Linked DNA regions of Homo sapiens: region 1 is linked to region 2. Evidence: promoter capture Hi-C in 16 types of primary human blood cells and fetal thymus (Javierre and others, 2016). All regions are on one chromosome and are shown on one strand. The core of a region is centred on a gene start or on the middle of the fragment in contact, and the rest is flanking DNA. Distances in the headings are between cores, read along the strand shown.

Evidence for each region. Contacts are between HindIII fragments. The CHiCAGO score rates a contact against its expected background, and 5 or more counts as called.
Region 1: a fragment that was not itself captured here is called in contact with the fragment with the promoter of NTPCR in region 2 in 1 of 17 cell types (neutrophils); the score reaches 5.6 in neutrophils.

The regions. Positions count from the first base shown.
Region 1 is chr1:233,174,365-233,181,412 of GRCh38, reverse strand. PCNX2 (pecanex 2) reads left to right here. Exons shown (of 34, transcript NM_014801.4): 16 at 2,238-2,347; 17 at 3,515-3,611. Among named protein-coding and RNA genes, the nearest start is that of PCNX2, 120 kb to the left of the region's middle. RefSeq lists enhancers at 1,550-1,739, 1,069-2,268. The HindIII fragment of the contact is 2,862 bases long and covers 1,979-4,840 here.
Region 2 is chr1:232,946,552-232,953,403 of GRCh38, reverse strand. It overlaps NTPCR (nucleoside-triphosphatase, cancer-related), which reads right to left and starts at 2,793. Exons shown (of 5, transcript NM_032324.3): 1 at 2,660-2,793. The coding sequence starts at 2,693. LOC107985361 (a long non-coding RNA gene) reads left to right here and starts at 1,855. Exons shown (of 2, transcript XR_001738525.2): 1 at 1,855-2,076; 2 at 2,248-5,184. RefSeq lists enhancers at 205-414, 350-849, 1,978-2,517, 2,518-3,059, 2,972-3,071. The HindIII fragment of the contact is 8,064 bases long and covers 2,092-6,852 here.

The DNA.
Region 1 (7,048 bases), core at 2,160-4,659, 230 kb before region 2:
CAGTCTGACCAACATGGTGAAACCCCGTCTCTACTATAATAAAAAATTAGCTGGGTGTGGTGGTGTGTGCCTGTAATCCCAGCTACTTGGGAAGCTGAGGTATGAGAATTGCTTGAACCCGGGAGGTGGAGTTTGCAGTGAGCTGAGATTGTATGACTGCACTCTAGCCTGGGTGATAGAGAGTGACTCCAGCTCAAAAAAAAAAAAAAAAAAGTCAGCAACTTGAGCATTTTTATAGGCGGGGCAGAGGGGACCAATGAAAAGAAAGTAGGACATCCTAGTGTGAGGGGAGAGTTGGGCTCAGGGAAGGAGGAAGTACACCTCTCCCTTGGACACTGGAAGGGAAGGCGTTGCTGATGAAAACTCCAAAGAAAGAAGAGGTCCGTGCAGGATGCCTCATCACTGGGTTTGAGCTTTTCAGCAAAATTGGTGGGGAAGACATCTGCACAGAATTAGAAAAATAATAAATGCAGACATGGTACCTTAGAGTGCTGGAAAAGGCACCCCACCCTCGGGGAAGCTGATCTGAGAGGCATGCAGGGCGTCCTGGTGTGGGGAGCTGTGTGGAGAGTGCGTCTGGAGGCAGTGAGTCTTACTTCCTGACTTTGTAGCCATGCAGCTCAGCAGCCTCAGGAAGACTCAGCTCCCTGCAATTTGCTTTACAGGTACTGCTCTCGGGCGTTTAGACTTCCACAATGGGGAAGATAAAAGAAATACATTTTAATTTCTAGGAAAATGAAGCATGTAAAAATAAAATCACTTGCTCTATCCAGTGTATCATTTGCTTTTCCAGACTATTTTAGCAGTTACAGTGGACAACTGCTAAGCACACTTGACTCATTCATTTGTAGATTTCATTATAAGCACCACAATTAACCCATCTTAAAAAAAAATCTTGACAGAAAAGTATTTAAGTTCTTGACTAAATTCAGCTTTCAGAAGGCATCAGTGATTCTGCTGATGGTGATTGAGAAGATTAAATATGTAGATGTTTTCTTCTTGGTGTATGAGAGACATGTTTGTGTTGGTGGGAGCACCAGGTGTGTGTGGGAGAGGAGCTGGAGTCCCAGGCCACCACACTGGTTGGGGTGGTAACATGTATTTCCCATGTTCTGCTCTGCCAGGCCGAATACAATGTGTTGATAACTGACATCTGTGCTTCTATCAAATTAAACCTGAAGTGCCTCTTTTCATTTCAAATAACTTTGCTCTTTCCTCAGGTGATTATCTTTAATCTTTGTTAGAAATGCTTGTTCCCTGGTGCCACAAAGAAATAGCACTCGAACATAAATTTAATTCTCTCAGCAAGGCCATTTTTACTTCCTGCAGAAAGGGTGCTCTATGCAGATGGAACAATGGCGAGAGCACGCTTGAACAAAGGAAAAGCAGACATATTTATCCCTTACACATTTGGGTCGTCCTTACTGCTGTGTCTGGCATCCATTGGCTGGAGCTGGACCTCACAGTCTTAAACAGATACCCTATTTGCTAATAGCTTAACACTTTCTTAAACAGGTAAGTGCAAGGGAGAACAAAGAAGAAGAGAAAGTTGCTCATGAAAGGTTTAAGGAAGCAATAACATTTCCAAATAGGGAAGGGGCATAAGCTATGAGCTAAGACTTGCCTGGGCCTGTCCAGACATGCTTGAGTAAGCCAAAGCAACTAACTGGGCTAAAGTGTAAGAACTGATAGTTGATAGGAGGCTTTAGAGTAAGAAGCTATTATTCCTAGTGTCTATTATTATATTTTTAAACCAAGACAAGCTTTGAAGAGGAACTTTTCTACTTTCTACAATCTTTATCAGGTTTTCAGTTCATTAGTCTATTTAATCTCTTATGTCATTTTTACATTTTTTATGCCATTTAGACCATCAATTAATAAACATTGAGAAATACAATTATTATAATTGTTAATTATTATATTGAATTCAGAGGAGGGACACATGTTTAATATTACATTCTATAGAACATTCTAAGCTTAATTTCAGGAAAGATTCAGTTTTATTCTTATAAGTATGTATAATTAGTCAAAAAGTTCCTTATCAAAATCAATGTCTATAAACCAACAGGTGAGTTTTTTGTGTGCCCACCAGATGCTTATATGTCCGTGGGCAGGAATAATCATGGGAATAACTCATCCATCCAGCTGGACCTTGGGGATATTTCTAAATGTCTGATAGAGATCCTGCTATTCACACAGCTGTGGAGTGACTTGGCTAACTGATGTCTTTTCTTTAGGAACCGTGGAGCATGCAACACATCCCGGCACTGTTTTCGGCCTTCTGTGGCCTCTTGGTCGCCCTTTCTTACCATCTGAGCCGTCAGAGCAGTGACCCATCTGTACTCATGTGAGTGGTCTATGCCTGTGCTCTCTCATCACTGAGCTGGGGGCATAGTTCCTGCAGCTTTGTGCCCTGACTGAGATGGGCAGACAGCAATTCACTGCCCATTGTGATTTGACTCTCATTATTAAACTAGCTGGTCACTCACTAGAGGAGGGAAGGAGAAATACAGGACCAGCCAGAAACTAATAACAATTAAAAATGAACATCTAGCAAACATTTTAGTTTTGCTCTTTTGATTTTGGAGTAAAATGCACAGTGGCAGGAACAGAGGGTCGATAGCACCCAAGCCCTGTTGTGACTTTCCCTTGGGTGAGCTGGGTAAGAAGCTGCCTCCTCAACAATACCCTCTCTAGATCCATTAACTACATCCCTGCCTTTACTCTAGGCAGTTACCCTGGGGAGACTAAACCAGCACCTCTGAAAAGAAAGATTTTGTTTGATTTTATTGTTTTGTTGTTGTTGTTGTTCCCAATCTGGCCAACGTCCTCTGGATTTAAAGTGAAATTTGCACCAAAGTGTTAAAATGTATTTAATGTAATGCTTAGTAATGTGAAAGTATACATTACAATCTTCCCTTTAATCATATCTTTAAGTTTTGGTAACGTGTACTCTGGCACTGGAAATCTTTCATGTGATGCCACAGTGAGTTTAAGATATTGACAGTAGCATCTTATGTAATTTGTTTAAATTTATGAAAGATTTTGATTTAAGATAACCGTAACTCTTTGAAGACCAGAGACACCATAATTTTAGGCCATGAGGTGCAGTAGTGTGAAAGGCATGAAAAATGGGGGAAACAAAAGTTAAACATGGTTCACACAATTTTTAGTGTCAATTGTATTAGTGCAATGTTCACTTTTTGCTGCTAATTGTGAAGATGAAGCCCTAGTGGGCTAGCAGAGATGGAGGACCTTCCCCATGTCCCACTGCTGACAATAGAGGGCAATGATACTGCTAAGGTACTTGACTGCTCTCATTAGGATGAAATTTACAAATCAAAACACTATCTTTATGATCACTTGAACATGCACCTCTTTTTATTATAAATTTTTAAATGAAGAGAGCACTTGTTTTTGTCATGTGTGGGTGTGAGATCTAAGGTGAAGTTATTTACCGAAAACACTGTCCCAGGAACATCTTTGATGAAGTATTGTGTTTTTCCACTTTCAGGTCCTTCATCCAATGCAGGCTGTTTCCTAAATTTTTACATCAAAATCTGGCAGAGTCAGCTGCTGACCCTCTCCCCAAGAAGATGAAAGATTCAGTGGTGAGACATTTGCGTTGTGTAATGTAGCATAGGAGGGCCTCATCTTTCAGCAGAGATCAGGCTCTCAATGGAGCTCTAGGCAGGTGGACATGAGAAGGACTAGGACAGAAAGATACACCTCGCTTGGTACCTGGCACACTGGGCTGTTGAGCTGCCTGCCAGGTGCAGCCCTATTTGAAACGCTTGCTCTCCGGTGCTGTAAAGAATATCACTTGAAAGTAAATTTAACTTACTCAGCAAGGCCATTTTTATACTTTCTGCAGAAAGGGTACACTCGCCAGCAGTTTTGCCATGAGAGTACACCAAACAAAGGAGACAGGGTCATTTATAACCTGACACATCCACCTTACTGCTGTGTCCGGTTTCCATTGGCTGGAATGGGGCCTCACATTCTATATTTGTCCCGATTGGCTAGCAACTTAGAACTTTTTAGAAGAGGCAAAGGTAGAGGAGAACAAAGGAAGGAGGAAGTAACTTGTGGAATGCTAAGAAAGGTAAAAACACCTTTAAATAAGGAAGAGGATCAGGCTATGACCTAATGCTTGCTTGGACCAGTATAAGCATGCCAGAGCAAGTATTTAGGCTAAATTGTGGGAGCTAAGAACATAAAGTACATTGATTTCTTTATCACGGCTAGCAGATATTTAAGAATGTTAGCACAGGTCTTTGAATAAATTTTGCTTCTAAGAGAAGTTACTATTTATTCCTAATTAAATGGGGAGGAAAGTCTTTGAAGAGGAACCTTTACTTTATTTTTTTACAAGCCCTTTAGAGCATCTTTTTTTTTCTTTAGAGACAGAATCTCACTGTCTCCCAGGCTGGAGTGCAGTGGCATGATCTCGGCTCACTGCAAGCTCCGCCTCCCAGGTTCACACCATTCTCCTGCCTCAGCCCGAGTAGCTGGGACTACAGGTGCCCGCCACCATGCCCAGCTAATTTTTTGTATTTTTTTAGTAGAGACGGGGTTTCACCGTGTTAACCAGGATGGTCTCGATCTCCTGACCACGTGATCTGCCTGCCTCAGCCTCCCAAATTGCTGGGATTACAGGCGTGAGCCACCGCCCCCAGCCTAGAGCATCTTGATGGTGGCTGTTGTGCACACATGGTGTGGCCACTTAGGTGGCCCTCAGGTGGCTGCAGTTTGCCAGGATAGTCACATGAATCACATTCAGTCCGTTTTGTGTATTGCTGGCACCAAACAGCAGGTGGGCTCTGCACAAATGAAAGCTTGTCAGATAAACGTTTAGCCAACCTGCCCTCCTGATGTGGTCCACACACAGCTGTTCTCCACATCTTCTCCCCTAAGCACCATGCTTAGTTCAGAGCATTCTTTCAAAGTTGATGTCTGCATAGCGATTGCTTGGGGCCCTTGGACTTTAGACTTATGGCTGGGTCACAGAGAAGGGGGCAACCACACTGGGTGGAGCACGGGAGAAGAAAAGGAAGAAGGAGAGAAAGGAAGGAACAAGAGAATCCTACAACTATAAAATAATGATGCCATTTCCTTGTTCACCAGGATAAGGGCTCTGGACAGCTTCAAAAGTTCTTTTAGCAGATGTCGTTTCTTTGGTATCAACTTACAAACATTCATACTTTGAAACACAATGCTCATTAATTGTGTAAGCTCCCATACATCTGAGTATTGAGCTTGGAGCCTCTGATGTCCTTGACTCACACTTTTCCTGGTTTTCTTAGGAATGACAGATAAAAGGAAAAGAGAAATAGTCTGTTGATCCAGCCAGGACTGTGTCTCATTTGTCTTGATATCCACAGAGCCAGTGCCCGGTGTTACAGTGGGTGCTCAGTACAGTTCATGGAATTTCGATGAATTTAATTGCAGTCTGCCATTTCAAGACGACGTACAGGACTCACAGCCAACATGATAGCCTTAAAAAAATTCATACTCAGCTTTTGTGCCTTTGAGTGTGGTCAGAATTCAAACTAGTATTAAGGCTTTTTTTCCACTACAAGGGAATCAAAGGACAAATCACTTAATATGAGTAAGGGCATAGTTCATGAATTTTAGGAGCAGAGATACATTTAAAAGCAGGTTAAAAGTCAAAGCAGCTGGGCCTGATGAGATGGCAGCTTAAAAAAAAAGAGAAATATTTGACATAAGCCTAGCATCCACAACCTGACCTCTAATATTTATACCAGGAGACTTACAGGGAGAAGGTCAAACTGACATTCCTACAGCATTTTCTGTAAAAGCCGTAGGGTGGCCCAGAGTCTACCCAAAAGTCTCCCCATGGATATCTGAGAAAAACTATGCCCTTCAATCTTCCTTGATTTCATGACTAATGAAGATGCATTTCTACTTTCTGATTTATTGCAGTTAAAAAAAAGGTAGGAATTACAAGGAAATTTGACAAGAAATTTGCCCAGCAGAGGTTGATAGTATTTCATTGGTATAATTAGATGTGATGGGCTAGGTGTTGCCTCCCTTGGTTTTCATACCCTTTGAAATGCTTTGTACAGTGTGGAGCACATAACTTGTTAGGTGATTTAATAAGATGTTTGTGTTCATTTCTCTGAAAAGTCTCTGGCCTAATTATAATATTTTAATGGGAATATCACATTCAGCTTTTAGAGTTTGATATAATACCTTCTGTGACACTGTGCAAGCATAAACCCCCCTCCCATTGTCTCTGATTTTGTTTCTCTGTGTCTCCAGCTCTTATTTTCTCTGTCTGTCTGTCTCTCTTCTTGAGTTTTAGTCTGTATGAGAACCCCTCAGGGAGCCTCATTAGATTTCAGTTTTCTAGCCCTCTGCCCATATTCTGATTCATCTGGCCTGTGAGGGGGTCTGAGGATCTTCATTTTAACAAGAATGTTCACCCAGGTGATTCTGTTTAGGTGATCCACAGATTGCACTTCAGGAAACATTGATCTAGAAACAGAGATATACCAATGGGCCTATACATTTGCATATGAGCAAGATAAGTTATGCACACAAAGTTTATCACCAAAATTCATTACTTAATAAAGATATAAACTTTCCGCTAATGGTTTACCTGGTTAGTCTTTTTCTATTTGTCTTATTAGCACAGACTCTTTTAACTTTCATATCTTTGTCATTTTCAACACCCTTTATTATGTTTAGATTTGTTTGTTTCACTGTATCAATTTTCTTCAGTTCCTAGAAACAAAAAAAAGCCTATTTAATTCTTATGTGTAAAATTCAAACAGTCTTTTCCTAAATCATTGGTTATAATATCTAGATTTTTCTGGTCCCATGCTGCTAGATGTGGAATGTTGGAACAGGGGTTCTTAAGCTTCCTTTGAGAGTTGGAGTGTGAAGTACTATATAAAATGCCACAGTGAATTTAAAATGTTCAGTATATGAAAAGCTAATATATTTCTTAGTTAAACATGCACGGATTTACCATAAATCCAAAAATTTATATATAAATTTATATATAAATTTTTCATTTTTT
Region 2 (6,852 bases), core at 1,544-4,043:
TTCAGTTAATTTTTTCTTCATTAGTTAAGCTGCTACCCCAATGCTGTCTGGATAAGAAATGACCTCTGCTTCAGGAGACCTCGAGATGATAGCTGTATACCAGGCACAAACAGATCAGAAAGCTCTGGAATTATTTTGGTTCTGGTTCTCCCCTAAGCAGATCCTCAGATAAAGATTCAAGTGCAGGTAGTTTAACCTGGGCAGTGACAACATGATGGACTGGCAGGGAAGAAATTCAGAAAGGGAAGGGAAGGACACCAGCATGAGGTGCACTGTCAAGCAAGTTCCACTGGGGGCAGCTGGAGCTTCAACCCCCTGGGGAATCCTAAGGGACAAGTCAGGGCAAGTGGCTCAGTTATCCTGTCTGAGGAGTGAGAAAGTAGGGAATTTATCAACTAACTTTCACCAATCACAGGTTGAAGGCTAATCCCAGGGCACAGGAATTCCCTGGCTCTTCTGGCCTGCTCTGTTTGCAGGCCAAGTGGGCTCCAGGGACCAGAGAAAGCCCTCCAAGATGAGTCATGGGTACAGACAGTTGGAAATCGGAAAAAATGCTAAGTGCCAGGGGCACTAAGAGGATATGCAACAAAAAGTGACCTCTTTGAGAGGAGACTTTACCTGATGGTCTGAACATATTGAGAAAACAGAAAGAAACTAGGCAAATAAAAACACCTGACAATAACTCCTAATGGGGAAAAAAGTTATGTGTAAAAGGAAAAAAAAAAAATTAGAGGGCATGGTGGTGCATGCCTGTAGTACTAGCTACTAGGGAGGCTGAGGTGGGAAGATGGTTTGAGCCTGGAAGGTGGAGGTTGCAGTGAGCCAAGATTGTGCCACTGCACTCCAACCTGGGCAACAGAGAGAGGCCCTGTCTCAATAAGAAGAGGGAAAAAAAAGATGGGTAAGGTGGCTCACACTTATAATCCCAGTATTTTGGGAGGCCCAGATGGGAGGATCACTTGAGGCTAGGAGTTGGAGATCAGCCTGGGCAACATAACAAGAGACAGGTCTCTACAAAAAAAAAAAAATACCCGGGTGTGGTGGCATGCGCTTGTAGATCCAGCTATTCAGGAGGTTGAAGTGGGAGGATCACTTAAGCCCAGGAGTTTGAGAATGCAGTGAGCTATAACTGTTTCACTGCACTCCAGCCTGGGTGACAAAGCAAGATCCTGTCTCTAAAATAAATAAATAAATGGAAAAGAAATCATAGATTACTATGTGGCTCTGTTGTGATTGTCTTTACATGGCCATAATACTGTAAACATTGACTAATGAAAATTACGCTGTAACTACATTAAGAAGAGAAGGAGAAAAGACAAAGGTGCGTGGGTTTGAGGACAGGTTTAAGAGAGCTACACTGTAGAATTATTTGAGTCTTTCAACTACGTGTAGGTAAGACTTTGATAAAGCAGAAACAAGAACCACCATCAATACAATCACGGTAACAGGACACCTCCATTAATAAAACACACAGTTGTCTTGGGGTCAGCCTGCTGAGTATCAAACTGCATTCCAAGTTTCAAATAAAGGATTGACAAACCAACTTTCAGAAAACAGTTCTTTGCAATACTTAGGAGTGACTTTAGATAGCAGGCATTTCTCAAACCACCCTCCTCCTCCTCACCCCCTGCTCCCCAACTCCCCCATCCAATGCCTGACAAAATCCCAAAGTCTGCAATATTAGCTGTAGCCTTTGCTACTTACAACTAAACATAATCATTAAAATAAAGTGAAAGAGAATTCTAGATCCAGGGTTACAGCCTTTGATATCTGAACCCACACTAAACTTCAAAATTAGATTTGCCTTGCAAAGGAGCTGAAGAAATCACTTTCTCCACTCTTAGCCCATCTATCTTTTTTTAGCCTATCTGATGCAGCCTACCTGTCCTTTTTAGTAATGCTTGATACATGGGTAGCGCCTTGGTTTAAAAGCACCTCCTCCTACACCTCTCATCTGACCTCAACGCTATCCTGCTTCTCAGATGAGAACTCCACAGGCCACAGGGTTGAGGGATCTGACAGACATCAGGAGGGGACAGCGACAGGAACAAGCAAGAGTGTCTGAGAAGGGCTCCTGTAGGTACCAAAGCTTCTCCACCTCTGGCCTCAGCTGTGGAGGGAATTCGTGGGGATGGAGATGGGGATGGGGGTGGGGGGATGAACTTAGATGGGAAAGAAAGGTTACAACTTCAGTTTCGCTGTCCTCCAACTAAAATTTACCATTTTTTTTTTGCACGATCAATGTAGCAAAGACCCACAGTAAGGAAATACCTGTGACTATCAACAGAAATTAGACATCTCCACTTCACATCGCGGTTGCCGCAGATCTCTTGAAATACCATTTGTGCAGACCACAACGTCAACACTACAGTAGGAGTTACCGCTGCCGCTGGCCCCTGCGGTTTCTGCCCTTCATCAAGAAGCCAGTCTAGGACCCCCTCACAAGTGTGTTCTAATCCTTTAGGCCCTGTGTCTTTTAAATCACGTTTTCCGGGAAGGAGTACAAACTCTTCAGACTACCAAGCCCGCCATTTAAATTGGGAACTTCAGAGGCCGGAGCCCTGGAGCCGGAGACCCTCCCCGACAGCACAAGGTCGCCCGCAGCCCGCGCGCCCCCACCCCCTCGACCTCTTGGAGGTGGGGATCCCCTCAGGGTTACCTGGGGGCCCCGTTAGGAACACGTGCCGGGCCATACTGGTGGGCGGGGGTAGGGGTTGCGGTCAGGGGAGCAGTCCAGGTTGGGGTCGCAATTCAGGTCAGGTCCGGACCAGGGTCGCGACTCAGGACCCGCCCACCGCGTGTCGCAGGCCCCGCCCCCAAGCGGTGCTTTGACCGGAAGCACCGCCCTCAAGACCACGCATGCGCCTTCTCCCGAGTCCCCGGTCCGCGCCTGCGCATTCAGCCCTCGGCATTGGCGCCTGTGCCGCGGCAGTTCCTATAGGCGGAGCGGGTTGTACGGTCTCTTAAGTTTCATTCTGGGTTCAGGGCTTTTGTGGGGTATTTGCAGAGATAAGTGCGTGAGAACGTCAGTTATTAAACTATTGCTGCTTCAAGTCAGCGCCATCACCCAAGTTCTGCCCCTTGACTCCGGACCTAGGAGCTGAAATTGCCCAAGGCTGCCGGGACAGCCCTTTTGTAGAAGGTTTGTGACCTGGAAGCATTCCTCAAAGGGGGATGCCATGTTAATGACTCCAACTTTGTTCTCAAACATTCCTGCAGAATAGAATCAGCTGGGGAGTTTTAAACTTGCTCTGATGCCTGGGTTTCACCTGCAGTAATAGGGAGTGTCAGAAGACAAAATTACAAGTTTAGTTTAAAGATCTAATTGGCTTATATTTAGGATCTAGAATCGAGAAATAGATCATTTCATAAAGCAAATAGAGTGTTCCAATGAGTTGTGCAGAGGAGGTTGGCTTTATGGGCAAAAAAAGGCTGAAGAACAAAACAAAGAGTGGGTATTTCAAAGTTACTTTCCTTATAGGGTTAAAACAGATTGGACTTCGTTATTGTACTGACTCAGGTTAACTACAATCTCCTGTTTTTTGGGAAAACGGGCCTGTTTCAAAGTTCAGTTTGGTTACATGGCACTTGGCACAAGTGACTCCATTCTGGTTTGGTCTAGTCTGCTAGGACCTAGTGCAGGAGGTTAGTCCAAAACAATGGCCTCCCATAAATCTTGTTTAACATGAGTAATTGGTCTTGAGCGAGTCTTGAGCACCTGTATTCTTTTTTCTTCTTTCTAAACTCCAGGAAGTTCCTGAAGTGCGCTAGGGTTGAGAACCACTGGTGTAGGCAGGCTTCCCGTCCTCAGCCATGCATAGGACGCCCAGTTTTCCCTCTTTACTTTCACACCAAAGTGTATAAAGATCTCCTCTTGCAAAGAATTAAATAGCTTCTCCGTCTCACTTTACCACTGCAAGTGTTCCGGCCAACGAATGACGTGGCAGTGGCCTTGGGCCACATTTACCTGTAAACTCTTTCAGTCTAACATGTGTACAGCTTAATTTGTAGTCAGTCGTTCCCCATCCTGGCTGAGAAAGCAGTTCAGTGAGTGCTCAACTTAATTGGTTTCTGCCCACACATGGACCTCTTGGTTTCCCTTTAGCCTGAGACATATGCCAGTCCAATGATTATCTAAAAAAACAAAGTTGGATTTGTAAAATATAGCTGTCATCACCATCATTTCTGCAACATTTGTAATGCTCTATTATTATAACAGTATACTATTTATTATCCCAACTGTTAATGTAGGGCCTTCCACCTTGATTTATTTTGCAGTCCATATATGTTGAATACAGTGAAAAGTTGATATAGTAAAGTAAATTCATAGGAGGAGCTTCCAAAAAAAAGGAAAAAAGTATATGTATCTCTTGTATCAAAAGTACTCGTTTTAAATGTTAATCAGATAGCATTTTCCATCACTGAAAAGCAGTTTGGATTTGCAAGGCTCACCGGAAGTTGGGTTCTTTTGTTTTGTTGCTGTGCCTGGAATTCTGGCATCAGTTTAAGTAGCTCAAAGATACATGGAATTCAGATATGGTGAATCAACGTCTCACAAAACAGAAAAAAAGACTCCATAGTTGAATGTACTTTATCCATGGAAAATGAATTATTTGGATGGTAGTTCCACGGATATCTTCTTGTTAGAAAATTCATTGATTTGATGCTTAATTTCTACAGTTTCCTGTATGTGTTATTAGGTAACAATAACAAAAAATTAAATAGCTTATATCTCTTAGAGATTAACAACAAAAGAAGATGGCATAAATTGAAACAAATTTTAAAATAAATGGGATCTTAAAGTACTGTACCATACTGAATCCAACTTTTGCTTCCTATCTAATCAACATCCAATGGACGGATGTTTGTGTCCCCCCAAAATTCATATTGTTGAAATCCTAACCCACAAGGTGAAGGTATTAAAGTGTGGGGCCTTAAAGAAGCAATTAGGTAATCAGGTCACTAGAGTGGAGTCCTCATGAATGTGATTAGTACCCTTAGAAAAAGGCGGGAGAAAACTTGCTTTCTATCTCTCTGCTCTCTGCCATGTGAAGATACGAGGAGAAGACTGCTCTCTGTCAACCAAGATGAGGGCCTTCCCCAAGAACCCAGTCGTGTTGGCACCCTGATCTTAAACTTCAGCCTCCAGAGTTGTAAGAAATAAATGTTTTTTTGTTTAAGCCACTCATCTGTGGTACTCTATTATAGTAGCCTGAGCTAACACACAAGGTAGAATTAATTACCTAAGGAACAGGTGATTCCAAAGATTTCTTCTGCAACACCTGGGTGCAGCCTCACTTATGACAGGATGCAGTACAGTTCTTTATTAAAACAGTTTGTAGGTACAACTCTACAGTCTCTACAATTATAAAATACCCTAAAGTCCAAAAAACACTGTTTATTTTGTTTTCATATCTACCCTTTTCCCAGAACTGTCCTAATTTTTAAACTGCAAATTCTGTGTCTTAGAAAGCCCCTCAATCCCGAGCAAACCAGGATGAATGGTCATCAAACTGTTAAAGGAACATTTGGGAAGTAAAGCAGAAGGTTTCATGTGGTTAAACAAGATAATTCCTTCTTACAAACAAGTCAAAGGCTAATAATACTTTATTGTAAGCTGGTTGTCTTGTCAGCGGTGGTTATAGAATGACTGTTTAATGCAGTCTGTACCTAAACTCTGAGCCATTCATACCCTGAGTTCTAATCTCTGTGCAGAACAATGTTCTATCCTGCCAGTAACCCAGTAGGACAGAAGCAGAGATGACTCTACACCCTCACCCCACCCCTTCCTACACCGCATGCCTGGATGTCCCCCACGCCCAGCTGCTACTGGCATCCTGTGGCATCTTCCTGGCTGGACACAGAACAAGAGTTCTGGCATATTTAGGGTACAGTTTCCTAAGTACAGGAAAACTGAAAACAGAACAAAGAAAAAGTATGGATGTGAAAATAACCAAGTGGGAAGAGAGACCATTGTGTTGTTTGGCCAGCCCACTGTTCATTTCACTGTATGGAAATAGCAGCTAAATTCTCCTTTTAGGAACCCCCTTTCTCCCAGGCTCTGTGATTGATAGGAGTGAACCTCCCTCCCTTTCTCATTATCCAAGGGGAATACATGACCCAAGCCTGGTCAACGAGATCATTCTATCTTCCCAGCCTCAGTGATTGACTCTGAGGAAGCATGTGACCCGGGCAACACATCTACCCCTAGCCAGTGGGGATCGAGGACAGCCACCAGCCACCATGACTGAAGCAGAGGGACAAGGGGAAGTGAGAGGGGGTGTGAGAGGCCTCCCCCGCATTCTCCCCAGTCACTCCTTGCTCATCCTCCAGGATGGGCTCAACTGTTACTGCTCCCCAAGGCTTTTGTGATTCTCCAGGCCCAGCCTCTGCTCCCTTGGCCTTCCCTTACAGCACCCCCTGATTGCTGGCATCTGCCTCTTCTCCTGCCACCCAGTTATGAACTCCTCCAAAGGTAAAAATCTAGGCTGGGTGCGGTGGCTTACACCTGTAATCCCAACACTTTCGGAGGCCAAGGTGGGCAGATCACTTGAGGTCAGGAGTTCATGACTGGCCTAGCCAACATGGTGAAACACCGTCTCTGCTAAAAATAGAAAAATTAGCTGGGTGTGGTGGCCCGGCACCTGTAATCCCAGCTACTCGGGAGGCTGAGGCAGGAGAATCGTTTGAACCCAGGAGGCAGAGGTTGCAGTGAGCCACTGCACTACAGCCTGGGCAACAGAGTGAGACTCCACCTCAAAAAAAAAAAAAAAGAATCTAAAAAATCTTGTGCTATTCATCTCTTTATACCCAGAATATAGCACGGTACTTACAACACATTCATCCATCACT